5 separate regions of the Homo sapiens genome follow, and all the other regions are linked to region 3. The links are contacts of gene promoters, found by promoter capture Hi-C in human tissues and cell types (Jung and others, 2019). All regions are on one chromosome and are shown on one strand. Each heading gives the region's core, a stretch centred on a gene start or on the middle of the fragment in contact. The rest is flanking DNA. Distances are from core to core; before and after follow the strand shown. Region 1 has its middle 100 kb from the start of TNFSF11. Region 2 has its middle 80 kb from the start of TNFSF11. Region 3 holds the start of ENOX1 (ecto-NOX disulfide-thiol exchanger 1). Region 4 has its middle 21 kb from the start of FAM216B. Region 5 has its middle 57 kb from the start of AKAP11.

The links. The method cuts DNA at HindIII sites, captures the fragments that hold promoters and counts their contacts. A contact is called where the count stands out against the background at its distance.
Region 1: a contact is called between a fragment that was not itself captured here and the fragment with the promoter of ENOX1 in region 3, in 1 of the 25 tissues and cell types used here (lymphoblastoid cells).
Region 2: a contact is called between a fragment that was not itself captured here and the fragment with the promoter of ENOX1 in region 3, in 1 of the 25 tissues and cell types used here (lymphoblastoid cells).
Region 4: a fragment that was not itself captured here is called in contact with the fragment with the promoter of ENOX1 in region 3 in 1 of the 25 tissues and cell types used here (lymphoblastoid cells).
Region 5: a contact is called between a fragment that was not itself captured here and the fragment with the promoter of ENOX1 in region 3, in 1 of the 25 tissues and cell types used here (mesenchymal stem cells).

The regions. Positions count from the first base shown.
Region 1 is chr13:42,672,138-42,675,668 of GRCh38, reverse strand. No RefSeq gene overlaps it. Among named protein-coding and RNA genes, the nearest start is that of TNFSF11, 100 kb to the right of the region's middle. The HindIII fragment of the contact is 4,331 bases long and covers 1-3,531 here.
Region 2 is chr13:42,652,271-42,655,850 of GRCh38, reverse strand. No RefSeq gene overlaps it. Among named protein-coding and RNA genes, the nearest start is that of TNFSF11, 80 kb to the right of the region's middle. The HindIII fragment of the contact is 5,098 bases long and covers 1-3,580 here.
Region 3 is chr13:43,785,571-43,788,851 of GRCh38, reverse strand. It overlaps ENOX1 (ecto-NOX disulfide-thiol exchanger 1), which reads left to right and starts at 1,880. Exons shown (of 17, transcript NM_001347969.2): 1 at 1,880-2,200. The HindIII fragment of the contact is 9,406 bases long and covers 1-3,281 here.
Region 4 is chr13:42,758,838-42,762,260 of GRCh38, reverse strand. No RefSeq gene overlaps it. Among named protein-coding and RNA genes, the nearest start is that of FAM216B, 21 kb to the left of the region's middle. The HindIII fragment of the contact is 3,460 bases long and covers 1-3,290 here.
Region 5 is chr13:42,327,110-42,330,584 of GRCh38, reverse strand. No RefSeq gene overlaps it. Among named protein-coding and RNA genes, the nearest start is that of AKAP11, 57 kb to the right of the region's middle. The HindIII fragment of the contact is 4,917 bases long and covers 1-3,475 here.

The DNA.
Region 1 (3,531 bases), core at 737-3,236, 1.1 Mb after region 3:
AGGATTTCAGCACATTTAACATTGTTCTGAAACCATCGCCATTGCAAAATTATGCCTGAGATAGTGAAAGAGATCTGACCTAACCAATTCCATCTTGCTTCTAACCTCCAAGCTGTCCTTGTTCGTTCCTGGACATAGGCTGAACTAACTTTGGGAGGAATTTAGTTTAAAGTTTAAAACAAAGATGATAACAGCCCTTTCCCAAAACAAATCTTCTTGCCTGGCACTAGACTGCCTTTGTAGGACTAACAAATTAGCCAAAAGATTAGAAATTATGATTTGGGAGTAATGCAGCCGGAGGCCACAAGTTTCTGATCCTCCTAAAATTGCTCGTGGGGATAACATCACTATTGTAAAACCTAAGGCCAGTGCTTGAGATATTTTGCAGATCCTGCACTTGATGGATCAGCTGCTGCTACCCAGATCTATTAAAGTGGCTCATCTGATCTTGTGGCCCCCATCTAGGAACTGACCCAGCACAAGAAGACAGCTTTGACTCACTAATATTTCATCTCCAACCTGACCGATCAGCGCTCCTTGCTCATTGGCCCCCACTACCCACCAAATTATTCTTAAAACCTCAGATCCCCAAACGCTCAGGAGACTGATTTGAGTAATAATAAAACTCTGGTCTCCCACACAGCCATCCCCACATGGATTACTCTTTCTCTATTGCAGTTCCCCTGTCTTGATAAATTGGCTCTGTCTAGGCAACCAGCAAGGTGAACCTGTTAGGCAGTCACAGTTCTGTCCTCAGTGAGAGCAGGTGGAAGGAATGTGGATTTCACTTCTTTTCACGTTTGTGTAGCAGACCCCAAACCCAGCACATTTCAAAGGAAGGACTGGCTCTTGACCAGCGGCTGCAAGATATTCTCTGAGCCTTTGGAATATCCTGCCTGATAAGTTTGTCTTTGTATACCCGGGGCCTAGGGCCGCACCAGATAGTTTATGCTGACAATGTTCCTTATGGTAGATGCATGCTTTTGTATACCTGAGGCTGTGGACCATGCTGTGTCAGTTTGGCCTTTTAGGGAAGCTGGAGACTGAGTAGCTAAGGCCAGTCCTATGGGCACTACCTGTCTACATGACTGGTTCCCAATAAAACTCACTGGACACCAAGGCTGAGGTGAGCTTCCCTGTTTGGCAATACTTAGTACATGTTGTCACCCATTGTTGCTGAGAGAATTAAACACTGTCTATGCAACTCCACCGGAAGAGGATAACCGGAAGCTCTGTCCCTCATCTTTCCTAAAATCTGACCTATGTATCTTTCTCCTTTGCTGCTTCATCCATATCCTTTTGCTGTAATAAACCATAACCATGAGTGTAACTGCTTTTCTGGGCCTCGTGAGTCTTTCTAGTAAATCATCAAACCTGAGGGTGGTCTTGGGGACCACTGGCACAATGTCTTACCCTATCTCCTTCCCTTCATCTTCTTCTGATATACTGACATTTTCTTTTTCTTTTCTAATTTCCTTTCCTTCCCCAAATGCCAGTAAAGGGCAGATGGTAACCTCTCGTGGCTGGGCATCTTTCTTTCCATACCTCAATAATTGCTAACAACTGTAAAATGAGAGTGAGATGGGCCTGTATTATAATTCTTTCTATTCTTAGATCTCAAATCACTTGACAAACAGCATTTAATCCTCCAAATAGCAAAGGACCATATAGTGTGATTCTTTCCACTGCACAAATGAGAAAACCAAGATCCAGGCATGACAGATTGTCCATGCCTTACAGAGCTGTCCACAGGCCATGCTTGAGAATGACAAAACTGGCCTTACTGGTTATTGCTTCTGGTCCTCCACTCCTCAGCTCTTGTTAAGACCACCTGATTAAATCATGACAGTATTGAGAAAAATGACTTTGAAAAGAGGCCGACTCCCGTGCTTTCTGCTTCTCCCTGCTCCCTGGGGGACACATTCTCAGTCAGATGTTCTTCCCACCAATTTCATTAGCACTGAGTTATAAGGATAAAAATATCCCACCCCTGTCACTGACAAGTTACCTTCTGCATGGAACTTACCGAGTCATCTTTTCTTTGGTAATATTGTCAGTGACATGTTTGTTGCTGTCAGCAAGGCAAAGGCAGTGCAACTGATTCAGGGTGACCTGGGCTCTGTTCCGCTCTGAACATCAATAAAATTGCCAGGTCTGCTTGGATTTCAGAATTTGTATTGTAGGTAATGATGATATATGAGCTCATGGAATATATTTGATCTTCAGTGATAAGAATTGTTCTGGCAGCTAAGGATGGAAAAAAATCATTTTGATCTACAGTATGGACAGGTTTCTTCTGATATGGATGTCATCAGTAGAAAATGCAAATGAGCACCAAGATGCCACTTCTACCCAGAGAATCGGCCCATATTGTCAAAGGAGTGAAAGCTGCAATGTGCCAGAGAAGCTGAGAAGGGATGGGGAGTGGGGTGGGGAAAAAGTCAACTGGGGAAACCAAATTTCAAGTCACCTGAATTCTATTCACGCTCTATTATGCCCAGCCTCTAGTGTCATGCTGAGGACACAATCACGTTCAAGCAAATGATTACCGTCCGTGCACCCAGGTAATCTGAAAAGACAATTATGGCCCAGGAAGGCAGTTTCTGCAAGGCAATCAGGATGTGGCAGGGGCCAACTGACACAGCCCCCAGTTGAGACTTTGAGGAACAGTCGGACGCTAGTGGTAATTAAAAGTGCCGAGCAGCACTGGGGAGGCTGCCTGGGCTGGAGTTTCTGGGAGGAAGCTCCTTCCCTGCCCCTGCTCCCTGTCAGCAGGAGCAGAACAGATTCTCCTGCTGGGTTGAACTGTTCTAAATAAGACTTTTTGCGTGCAATAAAATATACATAACATAACATTTACCATTTTAACAATTCCGAGTGTGCAGTTCAGTGGCATTAAGTATAGTCACATCATTGTGCAGCCGTCCCAATCATCACATCTCCAGAGCTTATTCATCACCCCCAACAGAAACTCTGTACCCATTACATAACTCCCCTTTCCACCTGCCCCCCTCTGTCCCTGGGAACTACTATATTCTTTTCTGTCTCTATGAATTTTCTAGATATAGCATAAGTAGAATCATACAATATTTGCCCTTTTGTGCATGGTTCATTTTATTTAGCACGTTTTCTGGGTTCATCCGTGTTGTGGCATGTATCAGAATCTCATTCTCTTTTTAAGGCTGAATAACATTCCATTGTATGTATATAACACATCTTGTTTATCCATTCATCCTTTGATGGACGTTGGGGTTTTTTTCCAGCTTTTGGCTTTTGTGAATAATGCTGTTATGGGTGTATAAATGTGTTTACATTTTTACTTTTCATTATTTTGAGTTTATACCCAGAATTGGAATTGCTGGATCATATGGTAATTCTATGTTTAATTATTCTAGGAATCACCATATAAATTAAAAAAATTTTTTTTGAAACAGCGTCTTCCTTTGTCACCCAGGCTGGAGTACAGTGGTATGATCATGACTCACTGAAGCTTCGACCTTCTGGGCTCAGTCAAGCCTCCAACCTCTGCTT
Region 2 (3,580 bases), core at 410-2,909, 1.1 Mb after region 3:
CATGGCATCTACAAATTTCCAACAACCACCTCTTTGTGTGTACAGGTATACTTGGATATACTTTAGCAAAAGACAGGTCCTGGGTACAGTCTAACAGAGTTAAGTGTACAAAGATAGCACTGCTTTAGCATTGGCTCAGCATGTGTTTTATATTGTTTTGAAAATGGACATGATGGATTCACTTTGACTCTGTATTCACCATGGGTGGGGAAGCTGCTCGGTCTGACTTTTGGACCCAGATACCTGAGCAATCTGACCAAAGTGGCATGAGGTGGAAGATGGGGAGTTGTGACTCCTTGTTCTATGTAGGAGCCTTTTCCAGTCCTTCCATTTCTGCCACAACAAAACTGCCTTACATCCCACAAGAGGACACATTTCACCATTGCCCTGTCCCTAAGAAGGAGCCAGAAAGACAAAACCAACAAAACCGCACCGACCACTTTAAACACCCAGATCTTGGAATAATAGGTTTCCAAATAATAGGTTTCCAATAATCATGTTTTAACATCTGCACACAGACTTTCACTGTGCTTTGCGTGTTTACAACCGTCTGAATCAATCTCATGGAGATATCCAAAGACTTAAAATGTAAACATTGATTCCTTTGGTCATTTCTTTTCTATATTCCTACACTTTTTCATTTTGTATCAAAACCTTTAGATTTGAAGCACAGATCCTCTGACCCTTCAACTCATGCTTCTGGTCTCCAATAAATATCAGGGAAGCTTTCAGAGATGGGGTGAAGAAATCTAATTTTCCAAATTAGAACTCCCTTTCATTCACAGGCAACAAGACTTCTAGGAAAAGCTAGATGTAGCTGTTTAAAATCCTAACTATTAAATCTGGAAGGATTTTGAAGTTAAATGATGAAATAGGTGCTTTCCTCATCTAGTGAGCAAGCTCTGCTTCACTGTGTCATGCAGGCATTCTCTTTAGTTTTATGAGTGTTTTCATTTTGAAAACTTGATATCTTATTACTGAAAATTCTACTCCTTTGAAGGAGGGGATTAGGAAGATACTGTTCCAAAGCAACAAAATTTCGATTAGACAGGAGAAATAAACTAAAGATTTCTCTTGTATGACATGGAAACTGTAGTTAATAGCAATGTATTTTATACTTCAAAACTACTAAGAGAATAGATTTTAAGTGTTCTCACTGGAAATAAATGATAAGTATGTGAGGTAAGGCATATGTTAATTAACTTGATTTACTCATTCCACAATGTATATATATATTGAAACATAATGTTGTACACCATAAATATACACAATTTTTGTCAATTAAAAAATTAATTAATTCTGCTTTGAGTTGGTGTTTGCAAAAAATCAATAAACAAAGAGGAATAAAAAGAAAAAAGAGGAAAAAGAACAAAAAATAAAAGAAGAAAATTTAAAAATAAAAATAAGTTAATAAGTTATTTAAAATTAATATTTTAAAATAATTTTTATTTAGTAAAAGATTATTACTAAATTAATAAAAATAATTATTAATTGATTGTTCACCTCCTTTTTCTGTTTTCCTGAGTTTTCCTCCTTTTCATTGACCATTGCTTTATGATCTCCTCCATACAATGATTACATTTCTCTTCTCCTAGCACTTACTCCACTCCAAGATACTGTTTTGGGGAGAAGGGCAGGACTTCTCCACATCCATTTCCCTTCAGGGGCTTTTTGGCTCGTATTCTCCTCACCCAGAGGCATACAGGCAGAAGGATAAACCCTGGGGGTGCACACTCTATGACCCACTTCTCATCATGCTGTTCTCTAGGCAGTGACCACATCAACCTATATTTAAATTTTTGCAAAACCAGGCCAGGTCTCACGTTGTCACACACACAGTAACAGACATCCTGAGTTGGCTTTTGTGTTGTGCTGGCCCCTAGTTTGTTTCTTGTCTCTTTTAAGTCAACCGAAATCCATGCAAATGGGAAGGTGCTTGCCTGACACATGATTTATTACTCAGCCTTTGCAGGATCTGTACATTTCATTTGAATATTTGCAATCACATGCAAGTTGCGCCTGGGTGCTCTGTATGTTGAAGGCAGGAATCTTTACTGCACTAACTAAGACATATTATTCACTACTCTAGAGGTAACAAACAAATTGATTTATCCAGGTATCTACTGCTCACCCAGCAGCTGTTGGAGTCAGAATCATTGGCTTAGAAAATCCATCAGAATTAAAGAGCAAATTTCAAAATAAATTGTTATCGTTTACATCTGCAGCCTGGCTGCATATACCCTGTGAAATGTTCTTTTTACATAAATGTTTCTTAAAAGCTCTTTTTAGTAAATACAGTTATGAAAGCAAGTGCCTCAGGAGCTTTTCCAGTGACAACAGCCACTGACCTTGTGATGCTGAGGTGGGCTTTCAACTTCATCTGATTTATGTTAACAACAAGCTGGCTCACCAAAATATGTCAGAACTCTTGAATCATCAAAGATCTCCCAACTCTGAAGGAGCAAACAATCTAGAAACAGAAAATGGCTGCTCATCCATTCTGCTGAATATTGACAGGAGCCTAGTCCAGTGTTCTCTTCCATGCTGTAAGAAACCAGCCTGTTGCATGGCAAAAGTGACAACATCTTGGAGTGAAACCACCATGATAACTGATGTTTAATTCCTGCAGAGACCAAGGTATTCAGCAAGGTCTTTAAACAATGGCTGTGGTATAGACAAGCCCTCATAAAGATGCTTATCTAACTTTCCTAGTGGTCATGTGTTTTGCAAGAAAGTCTGAAGTGTGATCAGCTGCTAATGCCTTTCACCTAAAATCATGCTATTTAAAGGATGCTTTCTGGAGGGCAGGTTTTGGGGATCCACCATCTTAAGGCTGCCCAAGACATTGCTTCTGTTAATAAGTCCCCATTAAATATTTCTTTCTGAGAAACTGGAGTTGTCAGCCTCTTTCTTCAACCTCTCAGCTCCCTTGGCCTTTGGGGCGGGTTTTCATAGACCTGCTCACTGTGAAACACACACAGTAAGACAGACATTTTGTGAAGCATTCCTCAGGTCCTAGACATTCCTTGCCAGAAATGTTGATTGGCTCTTCTCTCCTGAACAATTCAGCTTATGTATCCCTTCCAAAGTATCCTTCAGATGACCATGGTTATCATACCCATTTAACAGGAAAATATGAGACTCAGAGAGGAAGTCTCTTTTGGCAATTTTGTGGCAAATATGAAATGAAATGTTCAGAACTCCACTTAATCCAAAACCATTGCTAGCTTTCAGTGAATCAAGTTGCCTCCCCTGACTTTATACAAAAAATACTTTCTGAGGTGTCCTGATGTGATTGCCTTCAGTGACTTTTCAACTAGTCTGATAATCTCGGCCCCAAGGTTACCTGCTCTCATCTTTTAGCTAGAAGTAAGCCACGTTGCCTAGTGGGGTTTGGAGTGCGATGCCTTGAATAATTTCTGCTCCACACTTGCCCGCTGTGTGACCTCAGACACATTACCAGGTTGAACCAGGTGAGATATGAGATTGCCATATCTGTGGGTCAAAAACAGTCAAACATTAGCAATTTTATATGATTCAGCTTTAATTTCTCTAAAATTTCGTTTCTTCCTCTGGGAAA
Region 3 (3,281 bases), core at 631-3,130:
ACTACTCTTTACAGGAGAAAAATGCGTACCTGATAAGCTATTAGAAATGTGTATTTCTGGCCTGGAGCGGTGGCTCATGCCTGTAATCCCAGCACTTTGGGAGGCCGAGGCAGGCGGATCACTTGAGGTCAGGAGTTGGAGACCAGTCTGGAAAACATGGTGAAACTGTGTCTCTACTAAAAACTAAAAACTAAAAAAAAAAAAAAAAAAAAAAAAAAAAAAAAATTAGCCGAGCGTGGTGGCCGGCGCCTGTAATCCTAGCTACTAGGAGGCTGAGGCAGGAGAATTCGCTTGAACCCGGGAGGCAGAGGTTGCAGTGAGCCGAGATCGCGCCACTGCACTCCAGCCTGGGTGACAGAGCGAGGTTCCGTCTCAAAAAACAAAAAACAAAAGTGTATTTCTCTTAAAACTGTTTTCCCCATCCTTCTGCTCTAGAAGGGACAGTATAAACTGCTGGTGAACACTGACTTTCACATTTTGAGAGGTTAGGTTCTGAGCTTTGGCCCCCTCACACCCAGGGCATCCCACTGGGGTCCCTGCAGAGTGCTTCTACATGCATCCTTTGTTAAGGGTGCACAATGGATAAGTATTATTTTCTTTCTTTGCATTGGGGTTCTGACCGCCAGGGGGAAAAATAGCCACACACAAGGAAATGGCATAAGTTAAAATCAGGCAAGCCTAGTGGGGTGGTAATGACTTTCCCAGCATCCAAGTCTTTGCCTTCAGGTTACGTGAAGCTAGAAAACAATGTCATTCATTCAACATTTACAGGGAACTCACAAAGTACAGAGTACTATGCTAAGCACTGGAAGGCATGCAAAAGTGTGCAAAACACAATCCCTGCATTGAGGATTCCTGCCAGAAAGGGTATTTCAAGTATTACCCAGACCTTACGACCCTTGAAGAAATGCTTGTGTGAATAAAATCCCACTCAGAATTTAAAATAAGCAAGGAAAAGTATACTACTAAGACAATATATCTGTTAAGAGGCAGAGAATGTAAATGTGCTTTAAACATTTATTTCTGAAGTATTACAATGTAGTTGGGATGGAGGATCGGGGGATGTGGGTGTGTGTGGGGAGGTGGTGGGAGCGGTTCTTGGACGAGCCTGACTCTAAGGAGGCACTGCTTAGATGCCTGCACAGCTAAGTTGAATCCTAACAAAGAGGAGGCCGGCATTCTTACCTGGGAAGTGGGTAACTTTGAGAAAAAGTAGCCTCCAAGGAGGAAAAAAAGGCAACATGTCACCTGGGGTTAGGATCCCCTCACCCTTACCAACCTGAATGCTGACCGCACCCCGGCCGAGCCACTCTGGGCCGCACACCCCGCATCATCTGCCCAGGCCACGCGGCCCAATTCCACCGTCTACCCCAAGCCCACAATCCTGTAACACGCCCGCTCCAGCCTGGAGTCGGCCACGTGCGCCCGGGTTCTTCTCTTGGCCCTTCAGCGGGCCCGGCCCCTCCAAGGTCGCCGTAGCAACCGTGCGGTCCCTCTCTCGGTTCCCCCGCTCCCAGTAGAGCAGTCCCGACCGCGGCGGCGGTGGCGGGAGCGAGCGGCCTCGGCCCCTCCCGAGAGGGGGCAGCGCGACCGTGGGCTGCGGGCGCCGCCTCTGCTGCATCGGTGGCTGCGCGCTCCGCTCGGCTCTGCCGGGCTGGGATCCGGAGCCCTAGCGCGCCTCGCTGACTTCCCCTCCTCCTCTGCTGCCGCCCCGTGGGCAGCTTCTCCAAGCGAGACACGCGTTCGATCCTCCTTCCCCGCGTTTACGGATTTCCGGGGTCGTAGAATTTTGCCTCGGTCCCTACGAGCATCTCTCGGCCTCTCTCCCCCTCCCCTCGCGACTCCCCCACCCCGTGGGCGCGCGCGCACCCATACACTCACACTCGCAGGCGCGCGTGCGCACGCCCGCGCGCCTCCAGCCGCGGAGTCTCCAGCGCCCCTCAGCAGATCCCCGCTCTCCCGGGCGCCGCTACTCACACAGGCTTCCAGCCGCCACGGGGCGTCCTCTGTCTGCTGCAGCGGCGGCGGCAGCAGAGGGAACGGCGACTGCAGCCCGGCCGCGTCTCCCAGCTCCGTGCCCGGGACAGAGTCCGGGAGAAGCAAAGGAGGAGGAGGACGCCGAGGCTAGGAGGAGCCGCGCCGCGCCCGGCGCCCCACTCCGCGCAGCGGGTTGCCTCCGCTCCCCATACGGCGGCCCCAGGTAAGCAGCTCCGGGGCCCGCAGCCTCCCTGGGGCGTCCGGGCTCCGAGCCGGGGTCCTCTGGTCTCACCCCCGCCACGGCACCTGGATCTAGACTGAGAGGGGAGTGGGCGAGGGGGGAGGGGAGTGGAGCTAGAGGTGAGGCTGGTGAGGAGGGGTGCGTGGACGCGTGGGGGCTTCGGTGCAGCCCCCACGCCCTTCCCCGCCGTGCCCCGTCTCAAGCTCCCTCACTTTTACGCGCCCGGGGGTGCCCAGCGCCCCAGACAGCTGTTCCCCGCTCTCCCCTCCGCCCGCCAGCCAGTGTCAGCTCCGGGCTCCGCGCCCGCCGCGCGCCAGTCACCTCCCCTGCACCTTGGACAGCGCACCCCGCACCCGTCTCCCCCTGCGGGCGTCGCCCCCGGGACCCGTTCCTGCCCACACAGTGTTCCCGCTGCCCTCTTCTTTCAGGTTTTCACCCTCCCGCTCTGCATCCCTTTTCCTCCAGCCTTGGCGGACTCCGCTCTGCTGCGGGCCGGAAACTTTCCTCCCCGCCTAGTCTGCGCTGGGTACTGTTGTTATTCGTGACTGTCCCCTCTCGCGGGGAGCTCGGACACCTTGGACAGGTCTTCGTCGGCGGGAGCGCGCCCTGCCTGGCCCAACGCGAGGTAAAGGAGGCACTGGGGCAGCCGGACTCGGCCGCTGCCAGGGTGCAGAGCCCGCGCCTCGGCCGCTGGACGCCGGCCGCCTCCCCGCCTCTCCGGACCCGACACGTGCGAGCCTCCCACGGACGCGGCCCCTCCCAGACCACCCCACGTCCTCCCCCTGCACGGCCACAGCCACCCCATAGGTTGGACACCCGGGGCTCGCGGGTCCTGATTGGCTGAAGGCGTAACCCCGCCCTCTTTCGGAAGGGGGGTGGTTCTGGAGTGTTGTGGTTGTCATCCCGCGGCGAGCACATGGGGAAAGTGGGGTCGACAGGTGGGCAAGCCCAGCTCTGTGGAATCTCTGCGTCTCACTGTATAGCCACTGAGCCACGCTTCTTCACCCAGATACACTCCTGCTTCTCTCCTTTTCTCTCCCTCAATCTTTCACTGCTGTAACAT
Region 4 (3,423 bases), core at 311-2,810, 1.0 Mb after region 3:
TAGGGGCTGAGTTGCAGGTTTAAACAGGTGGTCAAGGTCTCCTGGATGGCCCAGCAGTGGGCTAATCCTTTGTGACCGATATTAATTACGTGTCTCTTTCTCCTTTTTATGCATAGGCACTTATGTTCTGAATCAATTGTAGAAAACAAGAGGCTGTCACGTTTATTACCCCTTCAATTTTCCACTAACAACCCTCTCTCTTTCCCATCTTCTTTCAGTTAGGGACTAAGATCCACAGACTAAACCTGTGTCCAGTTCTTAATTTCAGCTGTCAAATAATCTTCTCTTAGCACACTGTAGGCACTTAGCAAATAGTTATTAAATGAATAGAAAAATGAATAAAGGCCACTAGCTATTATTGACTCTCACTAGCTAATAATAAAAGATAAATAATAATTGATATTAAAGCTTCTGGGAATATAATCCCTTGATTGGGATTCTTTGGAGAAATACAATGCAAGACAGAAAGTAGACAAAGAGGCTGGGCTCAGTGGCTCATGCCTGTAATCCCGGCACTTTGGGAGGCCGAGGCAGGAGGATCACGAGGTCAGGAGTTTGAGACTAGCCTGGCCAACATAGTGGAACTCCGTCTCTACTAAAAATACGAAAAATTAGCTTGGTGTGGTGGTGGGCGCCTGTAATCCCAACTGCTTGGGAGGCTGAGGCAGGAGAATCACTTGAAGCCAGGAGGCAGAGGTTGCAGTGAGTTGAGATTGTGCCACTGCACTCCAGCCTGGGAGACAGTGCGAGACTCCATCTCAAAAAAAAAAAAAGAAAGTAGACAAAGAAACAGTAGGTGAGGGGTTTACGGTTTGGGGCTGAACCCCACCCTTCATGCAGTGCTTTGAGGAATGCCTTGAGATAGGTGGGCATCGAAGTTCACTGCCTGAAGGTGCCCCTGAACTTGGGAACTGTACACTCAGACAAGGATTCTGTGAGACTAGGGAATGGAAAAATCACCCGTGAGGTATTTTCCATGTAGCTTTTAATTTTTCAAGCGAGCTTTGCTGTCAGTCACCACAAAACAAACAGCAAGCAGTTTTTCCCAGGGTCCCACATCTTGGGCGGGCTGGACGCAAAAGGCCCTTGCCAAAAATTCCTGAACTGACTATGCTGTTAGTAGGGAAACAAAACAGCAATTCACAAATCATGGGGTTCTGACGTACTGTGTAAAAAAACTATCTGGAACACACTTTTTTCCTTGGCTTGAAATAGGCAAATGGTGGGAATCTAATGCATTCTGTATTCTGTGGACACAGATAAGGAGAAAAAGTAACTTAGAAGATAAGTGACCATATCATTTTTTGATAGTGAAAGGGTCTCTACGATTAATCAGAATGGGAAACAGGCATAAGCCAAGACTTTCTCAGGCAAATTAGAATATATGGTGATCCTATGTAGAAGAAAATACTGTAGGCAAAAGTGTACAGAGAAGTGTAGGTAAAATTTAGTATTTTTTTTCCCTACAGCCCATTTTATATGCCTTTGACACTGCCATCTCCAATCATAGAATCACCACATCGCAGAGTTGTAAAGCTCAAAGTGGGCTTAGAGATCATCTGTGCCCATCTACTCAAAAGAAAATCCAGGCACTCAGTAGTGTAGGCAAGCAACTGAAAGCTGGTTAGAAATGCAGAACCTCAGCTGGGTGCAGTGACTCACGCCTGTAATCCCAGCACTTTGGGAGGCAGAGGCAGGCAGATCACCTGAGGTTGGGAGTTCGAGACCAGCCTGACCAACATGGAGAAACCCCATCTCTACTAATAATACAAAAATTAGCCGGGCGAGTTGACACATGCCTGTAATCCCAGCTACTCGGGAGGCTGAGGTACGATAATTGCTTAAATCTGGGAGGCAGAGGTTGCGGTGAGCCGAGATTGCGCCATTGCACTCTAGCCTGGGCAATAAGAGCGAAACTCCATCTCAAAAAAAAAAAAAAAAAAAAAAGAAATGCAGAACCTCAGGCCTCAACCCATACCTGTTGAAATAGAGTCTGTTTTGACAAGATCCCAGGCGATCCATATGCCTATCTATGTTTGAGAAGCACTGATTTAAGCCATTTAACAAATTAAGAAACTGGCATTCCAGGAGATTAAAAATCTTGGTCAAGGTCTACTAGTTATATCCAGGGCAGAATCTCATCTATTCCATCAGGATAGTTTTATTTCCAATATGCAATGGTTCTCCCCTGCCTACCCTATCTATAAAAGCCTGAGGCTAGCAGAGAATAGACCTGAATTCTAGGCCTGCTTTCACCTCAAATTCAGGAGAGTCACTGCCTCCAGTTTCCTTAGAGGTAAAAAGAGGAAATTTGACTATGTTGGCTACTAAGTATCCTCCCTTCAAATTCTAAAGTTCTATAGCTCTATGAGTTGTGGAGCATCTAGGAAGCCTGCAGCTAGACGAGAGGCATCATGGAAAATGTAGTGGAGGACAAGTGTCTTGATTAATGCCTTTCATGAGGAAGAGGAAGGGCATTCCAGAAGGTGAAATGGCAGATGCAATCATTTGTTCAGAGAAGGGAGTATTTGGGTACAAAGGAGGGAGGTGGTATGGGTTATTTGCAAATTAGAAGACAAAATTTAAAAAGGCATATTTAAGCGCATTCTTCGTAAATTTAGACAGTGCATTAAAAAATAGCCTCTAAGTTAACAACATTTTTCCTCAGTTGGAGATAACATTTGTATTCACAGCTTCTAAAATGTTTCCTCCCCAACTTTGTGCACCTGTGGCTAATGGGCAGTGTGATGGTTGATTTTATGTGTCAAGTTGGCTAGACTAGGATGCCCAGTTGTTTGGTCAAACACTAGTCTAGATGTTGTTATAAGGGTAGTTTTTAGATGTGACTAACATTTATAATCAGTGCACCTTAAGTAAATCAGATTACCCTCCATAATGTGGGTGGACCTTGGTTGAAGGTCTTAATAGCAAAGACCAAGGTTTCCCAAGGAAGGAAGAATTTTGCCTCAAGTTTCCTGAAGAAGAAGGAATTTTGCATTACAATCTTTCCTAAATTTTCAGCCTGCTGGCCTGCCCTGTGGATTTGGGACTCAAGGCTGCAACATTAACTCTTAGCCGAGTTTCTAGCCTGCCAGCCTTCCCTACAAATTTCAAACCTGCCAGCCCCCACAATTGTGGGAGCCAGTTCTATAAAATATTCCTTCCCCTTCCTACCCACCCCACTCTCTCTCCTATCCTATTGGTTCCGTTTCTCTAGAGAACCCTGACTAATACAGGCAGCATCACAGATTTATCTCAACTCTTGTTTAATCAGAAGTTAATTGGCAGACAGACTTTGGGGCAACTATTGACAAGTATATGTAGGAAGTAGAAAACGTCTTTATTCCCAAGTTCTGCCTCAAAAGGACAGGTTCATTTCTGGATCACCAGTCTATCTTCAATGCCCACGACTGTGCGTGGTGC
Region 5 (3,475 bases), core at 697-3,196, 1.5 Mb after region 3:
TGTCAGCTCTGACAGGCAGCAAAAGAATGAAGGCAAAGAAAGAAGAAAACCATATAGTTAAGCTGAGATAATAAAAACTTGTGCCTGGTTTCTGGAAGGCACCCAGAGATCCTTTTTACATGTTGTCCTTCTCAAAATTTATCTACTTAAAATCCTTACTTTGTAAAGATTGTCAGCTGTATCAGTCTGAAGCTCAAAGCAATACCACATAAGAAGACAAAGAGAATCCGACTATGTAACAGTCAGAACAAAGAGCCCCAACCAAGATATTTCCAGCCATGACAATGGCCAGATTCATCATTGCCAAACTTGAAAAGGCCAAAGGTCAGTTTGGGGGTTTTAAAATGTTTTTGACAAATATTTATGAAATAAGGGAAATTTCACTTGTTTAAAATATGTATGTGGGAGTAAAAACGGGAAAGAAATATACTACTATATAAATAATTGTTATCTATGTGATATGGTTTGGCTGTGTCCCCACCTAAATCTCATCTTGAATTCTAGTTCCCATAATCCCCACGTGTCATGGGAGGGACCTGGGGGGAGGTCATTGAATCATGGGGGTGGTTACCCTCATGCTGTTCTCGTGATAGTGAGTTCTCACGAGATCTGATGGTTTTGTAAGGGGCTTTTCCTCCACTTCGCTCTGCACTTCTCCTTGATGCCACCATGAGAAGAAGGACATGTTTGCTTCCCCTCCCACCAAGATTTTAAGTTTCCTGAGGCCTCCCCAGCCATGCTGAACTGTGAGTCAATTAAACCTCTTTCCTTTATAAATTACCCAGTCTCAGGTATGTCTTTATTAGCAGTGTTAGAACAGACTAATACACTATGTGTTATTACAAGTGATTTTGTCATCTTTTTATATTTCTGTTTCTAAATTTGGTGATAGATTGTAGTGCAATGGACAGAACTTGGGCATTGGAGCCTGCCAGACCTGGGCATTCATTACCACTATGCTCATTGGGTAAGAAACTTAACCCCTCTGAGCCTCAGCTTCTCACATGAAAAACAGAAATAATAATGACAGGGTTGATACTGGATTCAATGATAGGAAATGCTTGCCATAGAGAGTAAACAGGAATTATTATATGAACCTGCATTACATTTTAGGTGCTCACTCTTTCTCTTTCATTTTCTATTTTAATTCTTATTTTAAACAGTGCTATTTCCTTATAAGCTCAATTTCCTTCTTACAAAAGTAATATATCCTTCAGTAGTTTTTTTCAGCACAGTTCATTGTAAACTCTTTCAATCTATTAGAAATTACTTTAAATTTACATTCACTCTTGAAAAACAGTTTTGAAGGATATGAAATTCTAGACTGACTTTTTTAAAATCAGCACTTTGAAGACATTATTTCCTTTTGGCTTCTATCATCATCTTTGAGCACACTACTGTGAATCAATTTTGTTTTTCAGGTAACCCATTTGTTCTCTCTGGTTGTCTTCAAGATGATCAGTTTTGCAGATTTTTTTTAGATGTGTGTGCATGTGCATACACATGCATGATGTGAAATATATACACAGAATTGCTTAGAATCTATCTGGGCAGTTTAACCACAATCCAAAGTCAAGAAAACAGAATATTGTTGGCACCATGGGAGGCTCCTGTACCTCCTTCTCCCCTAGAAGTAACCACTATCCTTACTAAATGATTTGGTCATTTCCTGTTTTTTGAAACTTTCAGATTTGTATCCAACTACAAGTTACAAAAGCCAATCTAAGTTTTGAAAGGTCCTGTATAGCACAGTGCTGATGGAACAGAAACTGGTAACAGTGGTTATCTCTGGGGGTGGTGGGGGTACTTGGTGGCTAGAGAGTGGTGAGAGGGATACTTGTCACTATACATTCTTATACCTTTTGGAATTTAATACCATATGCATATATAACCCTTTCAAGAAGATAAATTAAAATGTAAAAGAAAATTAAAAGGATATTAACAGTTAATCACATGGAGCTAAGCAAAAAAAATAATAATAATAAAAGTCCTTCATGTAAATTAAAATATTAGAAGTAATTAAGTTGGATAAAATATGAAACATCTGGAGGCCCAGTGGCTCACACCTGTAATCCCAGCACTTTGGGAGGCCAAGGCGCGTGGATCACCTGAGGTCAGGAGTTTGAGACCAGAATGGCCAAGATGGTGAAACCCCGTCTCTACTAAACATACAAAAAATTAGCCAGGCGTGGTGGCGGGCACCTGTAATCCCAACTACTCCAGGGGCTGAGGCAGGAGAATTGCTTGAACCTGGGACGCAGAGGCTGCAGTGAATGTAGATCGCACCACTGCACTCCAGCCTGGGCGACAAGAGTGAAACTCCGTCTCAGAAAAAAAAGAAACACCTTCTTGAAAGCATTTAAACAGCTAGTAAGATATTGAGGATGCAATGGGTCAAATATCTAGCAAAAGCAAAGAACCCCAAGAAGTAAACCACTGAGCATTCAAAGCCACTCTTTCATCCTAAGAATATTTGTCAAACCTGAAGGAAAAAAGACTGTGATACAGGATAGTATTTTGGCAGACTCACAAGGCCAGAAAGGCAAAAGTCAGTTCTCCCCACCCCCTCCAACAAAGAGATTCTCATAAACCATCCCCTCTCTACTTGTAACCCCAAAGGGCTACACCTTCCAGACACAGGCCCTGACCTGGACATGCAGCACATCAAGCCACCAGAGGGATCCAAAACCCTCAAAGCTTGAATTTAAATCAAGGTGCTCCAAGACTAGCTGTGCCCCCAGGCACCTGCCAGAAGAAAATGAAAATCCCCCAAGATACCATCATCCTGGGCCTTTGCTCTGGGATTTTAAATCAAGTTCTTTTGACCCCAGAGCCCAGGTTCTTAACAACTTCACTAAACGACTGTGGAAAAAATTAAGTAGTGTGTGGGAAAGGACGTGTTGGAACACAAAGGTCACCTAATCCAAAGTTATAAGCTGTTTGGATTTCTTATCAAAACTTGCAGGAGTGATCAGCCAGCACTGTGGAAACCTCTCCAAGGGCCAGAAATGCTCCTTTTCATTAAGGGGGTCTCGCCCATATTGCAAAGCTCCAATTTTTAGAGCACAAGCTGAAATCCACTGCTAATTTCTCCTCATGGGACCTCATCCCCTCCACTAGGGTCACAGGTTTTAATCTGTCTCCACTAAAAGCACTTCATATATTTAAAGGCAGTTTTGAGGTTACTCCTACATCTCTCCTTCTTTAGGCCAAACAGCCTTTTTGTCTTTCACTGAACTCATTTAATACATTTTTAGCTCCTTGGCCTCATTAGACAGTCATGGATGTGGATGGTTCCATGTATCTCTGTCCTTTGTAAAATGGTATCGGGAACTAAACACAATACTCTAGGCATGGTCTGGAAAGCACAGTGTCAAGTGAAGACGATCATCCGCCATGCCTTGGACTTAAAACCGGTGACTTGTGGTGTAACAAACTACAAACACTTTCTTGGACCACCTGGCTGACAGCCAGC